Regions from separate parts of the Homo sapiens genome. Here region 1 is linked to region 2. The links are contacts of gene promoters, found by promoter capture Hi-C in blood cells and fetal thymus (Javierre and others, 2016). All regions are on one chromosome and are shown on one strand. Each heading gives the region's core, a stretch centred on a gene start or on the middle of the fragment in contact. The rest is flanking DNA. Distances are from core to core; before and after follow the strand shown. Region 1 has its middle 25 kb from the start of CD36. Region 2 holds the start of TMEM60 (transmembrane protein 60).

Region 1 (5,469 bases), core at 1,279-3,778, 2.8 Mb before region 2:
GTTTCTTACTGTTGTTAGGCATTGTTATATAAAGACATGATCCTTACAATCGCCGTAGCCACTTTGCACTTGTAGGGTAACAGTAAGAAAAACCAACCTAGAGCCCTATGAATTAAGTAATATCAGTGAGCCTAAGGATGATTCCAAGCTGGTTAATTCAGTCTGTTGACTCCTTATTATATGAACAAAATAAAAAGTACCCAAGAAACTGCTTCTTTTGGACTTTGTTACTTGCAGGCAAAATCATCCCAACTGATAACAACTGGAGACTTAAGAAAATGTTTGAGATTTATTTTCATAGTATTTGTCAAATAATAACTTTCCTCTAGAGAAATCACTTTAAAATACTGGACTGTCATACCATCTTGATAACACAATTATCTGCTCAAATTGCGTGTGTGTGTGTGTGTGCGTGCAGGCACACACACACACACACACACACACACAGATGGTCCCCAACTTACAATGATTCAACTTACAACCCTTCAACATCACAATGGTGTAAAAGCAATATACATTCAGTAGAAACCATAGTTCAATGCTAGATTTGATTAATTACATGACATAGTCCACATTTTATTCTAAAATATGCTCTGTATTAGATGATTTTGCCCAAATGTGGGCTAATGTAAGTGTTCTGAGCACATATAAGATAAGCTAGGCTGAGCTATGATATCCAGTAGATTAGATGTATTAAATGCATTTTTACAATGATATTTTCATATTTTTAACTTACACTAGCTTTATTGGGATATAACCCTAACAAAAAGTCAAGGAATATCTATAGAATCAACTCTAAAGAACAAAGAAATACAACAAGATCTCCTATTGCCTGGAAAGATAGATTTCTTTAAAGGAAGAAAGTGTTATCTGTTAAGGCTATAAAATCAAATCAAAATTAAATCAAAATTCAAAATAAAATTAAGTCCAAGCTTCTATCCTTCCTAAAAACAGAATTATCCTGACAAATGAAAAGTGAACTATAAAATTAACCAATCTGAAACAAAGAAAGCTATCATGGAAACCAAGAAAGACTCTTCCATTTGTTTTGGTAAGACTATTAGAGAAAACTCCAAGAGTTTTCATGAAGCTTCCCGCCTTAGAATATTTTGGGAGAAATTCTGAAGAGTAAAGAAATAATACAACTTCAAGTTGTGAGTTAAGAGAAAGGAAACGTACTAAAGAACTAACTTATTCATTCAAACACTAACTGACCTTTAATCATACTCCAGGCTTTGAGCATGGCGCTGGCATGCAAAGATGAATAAAATATGGTCTTGAATAGATTGTGATTTTGTTGATAGGAGATAGATTGTAAAATAACAGAAGGGCTTCAATGGATGAATAGATATTTTCTAATCACAGAAGATGGAAAAAGGGCAATAGAAGCAGAAAGAACAACATGCATAAATTCAGAGGCAAAAAGGAAGTGATATGCTTGCAAATGTACAAAAATGGTTTTCAGGGAAGTTGCAAAAAGTGAGGAAAACAGGTGGATACCAGACCTTGAAGCCCCCTGCATGATATTCTAAGGAGATTGAACTTTATTCTGTAAGCAGAATAGAACAATTAAATAATTATAAGTTGGAGGAGTGACAGGATACGAGTTTGTACTTTTAAAAGGTCACATGAAAAGCAATAAATTGGGTTGAGAAATTCAGCTCGATGACTAATAAATGAATGCGGGAAAGACACAAGGCCCTGAACTAAAACTTGTATTCAGCCTGATGAAGGGAATGTGGTCTCATTCTAGGCAGAGTTTGGATTAACGGGAATGTGCTTGCAGTTTGTAGTGGCAGCCATGGCAAAGAGGGCTGTAAAACTGGAAAGCAAGCCCTAAGAGTCATTATCACAAGTGGGAGAAATACTTTTGGTTAGCTTTCATCTTGGTGGCATTCTGGAACATAACAGCAGGGGTAGACAGAAGAGAAGTAATGAAAACTGGATACGCCCCTATGCAAGCAGAGGGGAAAAAAACACAAAAGGTCAAAGGAACAAAGGACTTAGCATTTCTTTTATATTGGCATTCGTTGAAGCGACAAATACAGTATAAAGCTAACAAGTAGCAGAGCAAATAACAAGGGCACCCACAGTTTTCAACTGATATCAGGAAATATTTAATCCCCCAATTTCCCACTTCACATTATAAACTGGGGTATTGGAATTGGGGTCAGGAACTCAGATGTGGTTTCCAAGGAAGGGCAGAATCGGGGAAGTACTTCAGTGTCATGGTGGGGAATTTGAGGGAAAGATGGAGCCGCGAAGAAGAAGCAAAGATTAAGATACAGAGGGCACCCCTGCAAAAAAATCACAGACTAATGTACAAGAGACATTGATAATTTCATTTTTATTCTGGAGTCAGGAACTGGACTCAAGTAAAGAAGAACCTTACTAGGAAGAAGGAATGAGTAAACTAATTGTATAAACCTGCTTTTTAGTGAACATATATATAGATTCTCTTGTTGGCCAGTGGGTGTATAAAATATAAATACATTATGATGGTCTAAAAATGTAGGATAAAGAGTGAAAGAGAACCTATGTCTAAACCCAGTGGAAAACAAGGAGGCTCTCCAAGAAAGAATCTGGGTAGTTTTTGCAATTAAAAACAGTCACCATTGTTTCTCCACAATACGGATGTGCTCTGGAGAAACAAACATTCGATGTAAACAAAAAAGAGAATGATGCCCATTTTATTCTGGTATAATTTATACAAGTAGTTTAAGAATATCTGTGATGTGTTAAGAGTTTGTGGAAAAACATCAAGTACAGGAATATTTCTAGTAAGAAAGCTGATTGGCATTAATGCTCTTTTATTTTCATTTCAAATAGACAACTGCTGCTAAGCCGGGCATACAAAATATCCCTTTGACTTTCAGAAAAATAATAAATGTTTATCTGTAACAACTTTTCAGATAGTATTATTACAAAATATAGACACCCAAAAGCACATTAGCTAATTATATGCATTTGGTTCTGTATAAAATATACTCCAAAAGTACTATATTAACTTCCCAAGTAACTGGTAGATATTTTATATTTATTGATAATATTTACCTTTTATTACTGTTAACAAGGAATCAACTCAGTTATCAGGATCCTACTCTAATTTGACTTTTGAACTATTCAAATTTAAGAATCAAAACTGCTGACTAGACTTAAATAAACCCCATCTCTTAGGCCCCTGACAAGCATCTCTCATCCGTAAAAGATTCAAGCCTCTTTGTCCCATTAAAAGTTAAAATTTTTCACTGTGATTTTTACTTCTTAACTACAGTTTCCTGTTCAGTAAATTATTTCTGGCTCACATAAAACAGAGCTGCATGTTTTATTCCAAAATAGGAAAGATGAAGTAGGATCTTGTGAAAAGATAGACCTTAAGGAGAAAGAGAAGAATGAATATCTTTCTTGGTTTAGATGATATCTTCAAGAGTAACTAAAGGAAAAATCTCCATAAAGTAGAATCAAAGTAGCTTATTAACAAGATACTATGATAAATACAGCAGTGGTTAAAACACACTATTTCTCTTGTATTGCCTTTATCATATTTTAAGAGCAACCCTCACCTCCCTGCAAAAAGAAAAAATAGAGAAACTTAAGTTTACATATGGCACTGAAACTTTGAATTTATCATGCAGCTCATGTTTAAAAAGCATATATGTATAATGTAAAGAAAGTAATACAATTATGAATATTACAAATGTCTTAAATATTACATTACCATAAAGAAAAGATACTTTTTCTTTGTGTGACTCATGGAATCAAGTTTATTTATAGCCTTATCTCCCCTCCTCTCTCTACTACTACTTCCTCTACAGATTTATGAGAAGTTACAAAGTAGATTATTAGCATGGGATGTTTGTCAATATTTCTACTCATTTTGAATCCATATACTACCTAAATATATGGAATATTATTCAATCACAGACTTGAATCACTTACTAGATTTTTTATTTAAGCAAAGCTTATGATGAAAGTTTATCTGAATTCTTAAAAAATGCTTAGTGGATATAAAGTGTTCTCACCACAAAAATAATAACTATGTGATATAACACACATGTTAAATAGCTAGATTGAGCCCATTCCACAATGCTTATACATTTAAGACACAGTGAATACATACAATTATATCTGTCAATGTGGAAAATTAAAGAAATAAAAACAACAAAAGAAAGTATATGGTTGAATAATAGAAAAAGTCAGATTATCTCTTCTATTTCAGGTGGTATCTGGAATATCTAAATAGAAAGTTGAGTATATATATTTAACCACATTTATATAAGTTCCACAGAGGTGCATATTTTCAGAAATACTTTTTAAGATAATTCCCAACTGCAGGATTCTACAATCTGATTAGCATGCTGTTCATCTACATAGTAAGTAGAAAGACCCCTTAATTTCTTCATAAGAAGCTTTGAGTTATTAAAATTTCATTTCATTGTATTTTATATATGCCAAAGGCATAATTTTTTCATTTATATAACAAATTAGTTTTTATGGTATATGTGCAAAGAAAAGAATAAATGCCCCCAAACAATTTGTGCACATTATCATTTTTATACAGGGACTGATCTCCTGTGATTTTTCAGGTTGCTAGCATAACAGGAATGATATTTTATATTACAGGACTCAGTGTATTGAGCATATTATAGAACTTAAGAAGGACATTCAAAAGAATCTCATTTCAACAATCATCAAAGTAGTGGAAATTGGATTTCAGGTGTGCACGTTTAATTACTGAAGTAACAAAGAACTTTGTACTGTAAAGAGAAAACAGCCCATCACCCAGGAGCTGGGCTGATATTATTAGCTAGGTCTTGCTGTTTCTGGGCACAGGCCCAGCACTCACTGCTTGGCCTTGGTGTTTGTTCTGCTGAACACAAACAATTCATAGAGCATTTACTTTAGATAAAATCATTCTGTGATCATGATGAGTCAAGACAAAATGAGACCTTTTATGTCTGAACCCAAAACGATTATCAACACTGTCCAAGCCACAGATACTACACATTCCCTTCTCACTTACTATGAGTGACTCTGCTTCTTTATCAATTACAGCTTTAGCTTCAGTCTAGTCTTCCCTCCTCCAAGATTAAGACACCCAATCATAAAATTATCCTGCCTCCTGACAACATCTAATTCAGAGCAAATCTCTATTTCCTTCAGTATCACCTCCTCGACCCTCCCCAACCAACCAACCGAAGTCCAAATTCTAGAATAGATTTTTCCTAACATCTTCTTACCGGGTCACTGTCAGTTCCCTATGGTACACTTTCCTCTCTTTTCAATGAGTAATGAACTTGTTTCACTACAGGTGTGTTCCTGTTGGTCTTTGGTTAAAGAAAGGACATTGGCAGTAATAAAGCATCTAAGAAACTTGGCTCCTAACTCCAGTGCTATCAGGAGGCTCTCATGTATATGCTAGCACAATCTCTCAGAATTTTCAAGATGACTAAAGAGAAACTCAAAGAA
Region 2 (4,738 bases), core at 422-2,921:
ATGGTGAAAAAAGCCCAGTTTGAAAGAAAATAAACTTTACAAAAATACCTGAAAACAAGATCAAATACTAAGTCTCTTGCCAAAGTCTTGGAGAAAAAAAAAATGAAAGAAACGTTTAAAAATGGCAAAAGCTAACCAAAAACCTTAAGATTAAAGTATCACACCTGAAAAGTAGTCTCAAAGCAAGGAGGATATACTATTAACAAAGAAAGCAACCGAAAACTACAAAATATTTAATATTCACCATGAATTTCAAAATTACTTGGCATGTAAAGTACACACTGAGATTAATAAATTGTTCCAGATTCTGCACTGCCCAGGTTAGTATAAGGCAGTTCCTTGTTTTCGCCACGCTAAAAATAAGAAGGGTGACAGATTAGTGACAGAATGATCCCTGAAGTTACACAAGGAGGTGCTGAGTTAGAAAGCCATGACTCGAAGGACAATACCAGAATGCTGGCTGTCAACACTGGGCAGATAAAAATAAGAAAAGCTGAAGCATGCTGATGGAGCACGGTATTGTTTCCAGACGGGAACTATCCCTTAAGGCCCATGCCTTAAGCACCCACTCCGCCGTGTTGGGATCAGAAAACTCGACTGCCGCCTGCTCAGAGGGGGCAGGGCAGCGACCCTCCTTCCACCTCCTCCAGCGCGCGAGCCGCCGCCCCCTCCCGAGCCCGCTCCTCCGGCCGCTAGCTGACATCTCCCCGCCAGCCGGGCTAGCCACCCGAGACCCCTGAACGCCCTTCCAGGACCCGACGACCCCTCAGCACAGCGCCAAGGGAAGGAAGCAAAGGACAGGGGCCTGGAAGCGGGGCCCGAGGGGCGGGTGGCGCGCTGGGCTTCGGCCCGTCACCATCAAGACTTGAGGACCGCGCGAGCTCGGGAGGAAGGCGGCTGAGCCTCCGCCACCGGCCGACTGATGAGAAGGGGTCGCGGCTGACCCCGGCCCTCAGGTACGGGAGACTGCCGGGAAAGTCGCCGGCGACGGAGGGCGACGCGTTGGCCCCGGAGCCCCCACCTCCATCCCGACGACCGCTCTCCTCCCTCGTCCCGATCCATCCTCGAAATTCTGTCAGAACTCGACGACCTCCACACTGCCCACCCGAGCGCGGAGGTGATGCCGCTCTTACCGTAGGAGCGAGCGCCGCGCCGCTAGGAGGCGGCTGAGGTGCGCGCGGGAGACTCCGAAGCTAGCGCCGCCGCCAACAGAGCCCAAGGAGCCACAACGAGGCTGCCCGCGGGCGCGCTGCCTCCAGAGGGTTGCCCCACCCCCTCTCCCGCAGGATTTTGCGCCGGAGCCTGCAGTCACTGCGCGCGGGCAGGGAGGATGGGAGGAGGGGCGGGGCGTCCCGAGAGGGCGGAGCTGAGCGCCGGCTGCTCTGATTAACATCTGTGGGCCCAATGGGAGCACGGAAACTCCAGGCTGATCTTGGACTGACTTCCCTACTAACCCGTGACAGTAGAGAGGCGGGACCAATGGGTCTTTTTATTGCCGCCTTTCTGTCGAACCCGAAAGTAAGGAAAGGTCGGTTGGTTTGCACTGGCGGACAAATGGTCCAATTACCGCGGAAAAGGGACCTCTGAATCCAGATTGGCGTCCTCTCTACCTATAGGGTAGGCTCAGGGGCGGTGAGAACCAGCCCCGGATGTGGGCGCGGCACTGAGGTAGAACTGAGAGATCCTCTACCGCAGTCGTTTGAGGAGGCGGAACTGAAGTTTTTTCTTAATTATCATGTGACGGGTTCTGGATTTAATGGGGGGAAAAGGGCGGAAAAGGACAAGGATCCAAACTGGCGAATTTGCTGATCTTCGCGTCCCTCTCCGCTTTCCGGCCGGCAGCGCTGCCAGGTGAGTCTGGGGCTCTGCCCTAGCCCGCACCGTACGCCGGCGCTGGTCTCCTGATGCTTCCGTGGGCTGTGCGGCCGACCCTCAACCCATCACACAGCCAGCCCCAAACGCGCACACGCCTGCTTGGCTCCAGGGCTTCTGTGCGCATCCAGCAGGAACCGTGTTAAACTCCAGCATGTGCTGGGCTTACAGCCCATGAAAGGGGAGCGTCCCGGTGGGGCGCCGCGAGCCGACTGTCGGTGTTTGCAGAAGGGCAAGTATAGTTTAGGAGCGTCCTGAAGTTCCAGGGGCAAATAGGCCCCCAGATGAGCTAAGTTGTAAGCAGAACGCTGTTCCTTTGGCCAAGGCTGTTGCTGCACGGGCTTTTCAAAAGCGACTCATTATGAAGAAGAATAAATATGTGGGCTCATGAAGCAAAATTATCTTTGGGATGAGGCAGGTTCACTTGGTAGACTACTGGCAGTGGCGAGAGAAGGGAAATGGGGGCTGATACCCAGCCGTGGGCTATGTGGGTGGGGCTCTATATATGTCCATACAGGGGTAACTCCGAAGGTTTTAAAAATGAGTAAGGAATCATTAACAAATATTTAACTGTCTTCCTAGTGCCAGAAATAACCACCTTAAATGGGAAACATTTTAGTTGAGCACATTTTTGGAGTACGCACCTCCCCCTTTCTTGTGGAGAGAATAGTAGGAAACATAACGACTGCTCAAATTGATGAAGACGTAAATGTAAAACTGGGATCGTATGTCATCGTTGTAGCTCAGCATACAGGCGTACAATCCTTCAATCGTCATTTAAGTATCAGCAGTGCTTCCCCATTGAGGGTATTTCCGTGCAAGAACATAACAGAATTTTGTTGCATCCCACATTATAAATCTTGTAGGCACAATAAGATTGTTACTTGCATCCTTTCACCTCCAGCCCTAAAGCACCTGTGGTAAGTACAGCCAAATGTAAGAAAAAAATGAAGCTTGTCTTATCCGATAGCAGATGGAACAGTTAGGTTTAAGCAAGTGTATAATCATAAACCGTTTTTCAGAGGTTCACAAAAACGGCCTGATAGATTGGAGGTGGGGATTGTGCAATTTACGGGATGAAATCCATCCATGGTTATTAATCAACACACACCCCTCCAACCCTGCTTCCAAATTCAGTCCCACATCCCACTCTATGGCAGCCTCTGGCCGGGAAAGGAAACCAACACAGAAAAATGCCTCCTTAGAAGCAAAATTACTGCAGTATGAAGCCTTTGCCAATTAAGTAAACAAGTTTAAGTGCCACTAGATGGGTATAAGGGAAAAGAGGTGAGTTAGGAGACTAATACTTAACTGTTGAAATAGAACAGATGTGTCCTCTTGCACTGTGATAGCCACCCACTATTTAAAGTAGTAGAGATGTTGCACAGTACATCAAAGTTAGTTCTAAAATATAATTGAGCACGCTAATCTAGGGTATTTGGCTCAATTAGCCAGTTCCTTCACCTTTTCCCTGTTATCTTCCTGCATCTTTCCTCCTACCACGCATGCTTTTGTTCCTATCCCTAGCACCTTCTGATCTTTTTCTCTTTCCATCAAGTATCCTCTCTCATCTTCAGTGTCATTCCCCATTGGCTTATTTCTGTTTATAGTCATAAATTCTTCCTTTCCTGAAAATTTCTTCTTTCAGTTTCATATACCCTATCTTTCATTTTTCTCTTCTCCAAATGCCTCAAAGGAATAAAATGTTCTCAATTGTTTCCATTTCTTGGTCTTCTGTTAACTCCTTACCCAGCTGCATGCAGTCTGGCTTCTGATTTCCCATTCTACTTATCCTTTTTCCAAGTGGCCATAAAGGTTGGTATAAAAAACTTAAGTAGAGGAACATATCATAAACCTATATGTGAAGATTAAATATAATAAATGCTATCCCAAGCTAAGTTTTATGCATTCATAATCAAAATTCTAGGTTTTCAAGAATCAGCAAATTTAGCATTGAAAAACTGTAAGGGCAAAATAGAAAATATTCTAGAAAAGAGGCCGGCGTGGTGGCTCAAACCTGTAATCCCAACACTTTGGGAGGCTGAGGTGGGTGGATCACTTGAGGTCAGGAGTTCGAGATCAGCCTGGCCAACATGGTGAAACCCCATCTCTACTAAAAATACAAAAACTAGCTGGGCGTGGTGGCGCACACTTGTAATCCCAGCTACTTGGGAAACTTAAGTGGGAGGATCACTTGAACCCGAGAGGCAGAGGCTGCAGTGACCTGAGATCGTGCCACTGCACTCCAACCTGAGTGACAAGAGTGAGACTCCGTCTCAAAAAAAAAAAAAATTCTAGAAAAGAGAACAACGAGTAGATACTAGGCCTTCCAGATATTAATACATTCCTAGAGCAACACTAAGTCATATAGTATTAGTGCAAAAGAGAAACATATAGATCAATGAGGCAGAATAGTGATATAAGAAATAGCCCCCAAAATTTAGCATCTAATAATCACAAAACATCAAAAGTTTATTAGGTGGTCCTGATTATTGAATGGATAACAAGTAGCTTAAAAAAATACATATATACACCACCAATCAGTGAGACTATTGTTAAAAGGAAAAAAACTATTATACCAAGAAAGATATTTGTAAGAATTTTTATGAGAAAATAAGTGAGAATTTAAGAATATGTTTCAAATTATATGAAAATCCAGTGTTATCAGTGCCTTTTATATTATATAGCCCAACAACCTCTTTACAATCTTTTTTTTTTAGACAGTGGTCTCACTCCCATCGCCCAGGTTGGAGTGCAGTGTGCAACGGCTCACTGCAGCCTCAACTTCCCGGGTTCAGGTGATTCTCCCACTTCAGCCTCGCGAGTAGCAGGGAATACAGGCACGTGCTACTGCACCTAAATTTTT

Evidence for each region. The method cuts DNA at HindIII sites, captures the fragments that hold promoters and counts their contacts. A CHiCAGO score of 5 or more calls a contact.
Region 1: a contact is called between a fragment that was not itself captured here and the fragment with the promoter of TMEM60 in region 2, in 1 of 17 cell types (M1 macrophages). The highest score is 6.2, in M1 macrophages.

What each region holds. Positions count from the first base shown.
Region 1 is chr7:80,611,400-80,616,868 of GRCh38, reverse strand. It overlaps a transcript of CD36 not described here. Among named protein-coding and RNA genes, the nearest start is that of CD36, 25 kb to the left of the region's middle. The HindIII fragment of the contact is 2,871 bases long and covers 1,093-3,963 here.
Region 2 is chr7:77,795,367-77,800,104 of GRCh38, reverse strand. TMEM60 (transmembrane protein 60) reads left to right here and starts at 1,671. Exons shown (of 2, transcript NM_032936.4): 1 at 1,671-1,851. It overlaps PHTF2 (putative homeodomain transcription factor 2), which reads right to left and starts at 1,332. Exons shown (of 19, transcript NM_001395272.1): 1 at 1,134-1,332. RefSeq lists a silencer at 1,252-1,391 and an enhancer at 1,802-1,911. The HindIII fragment of the contact is 8,213 bases long and covers 1-2,827 here.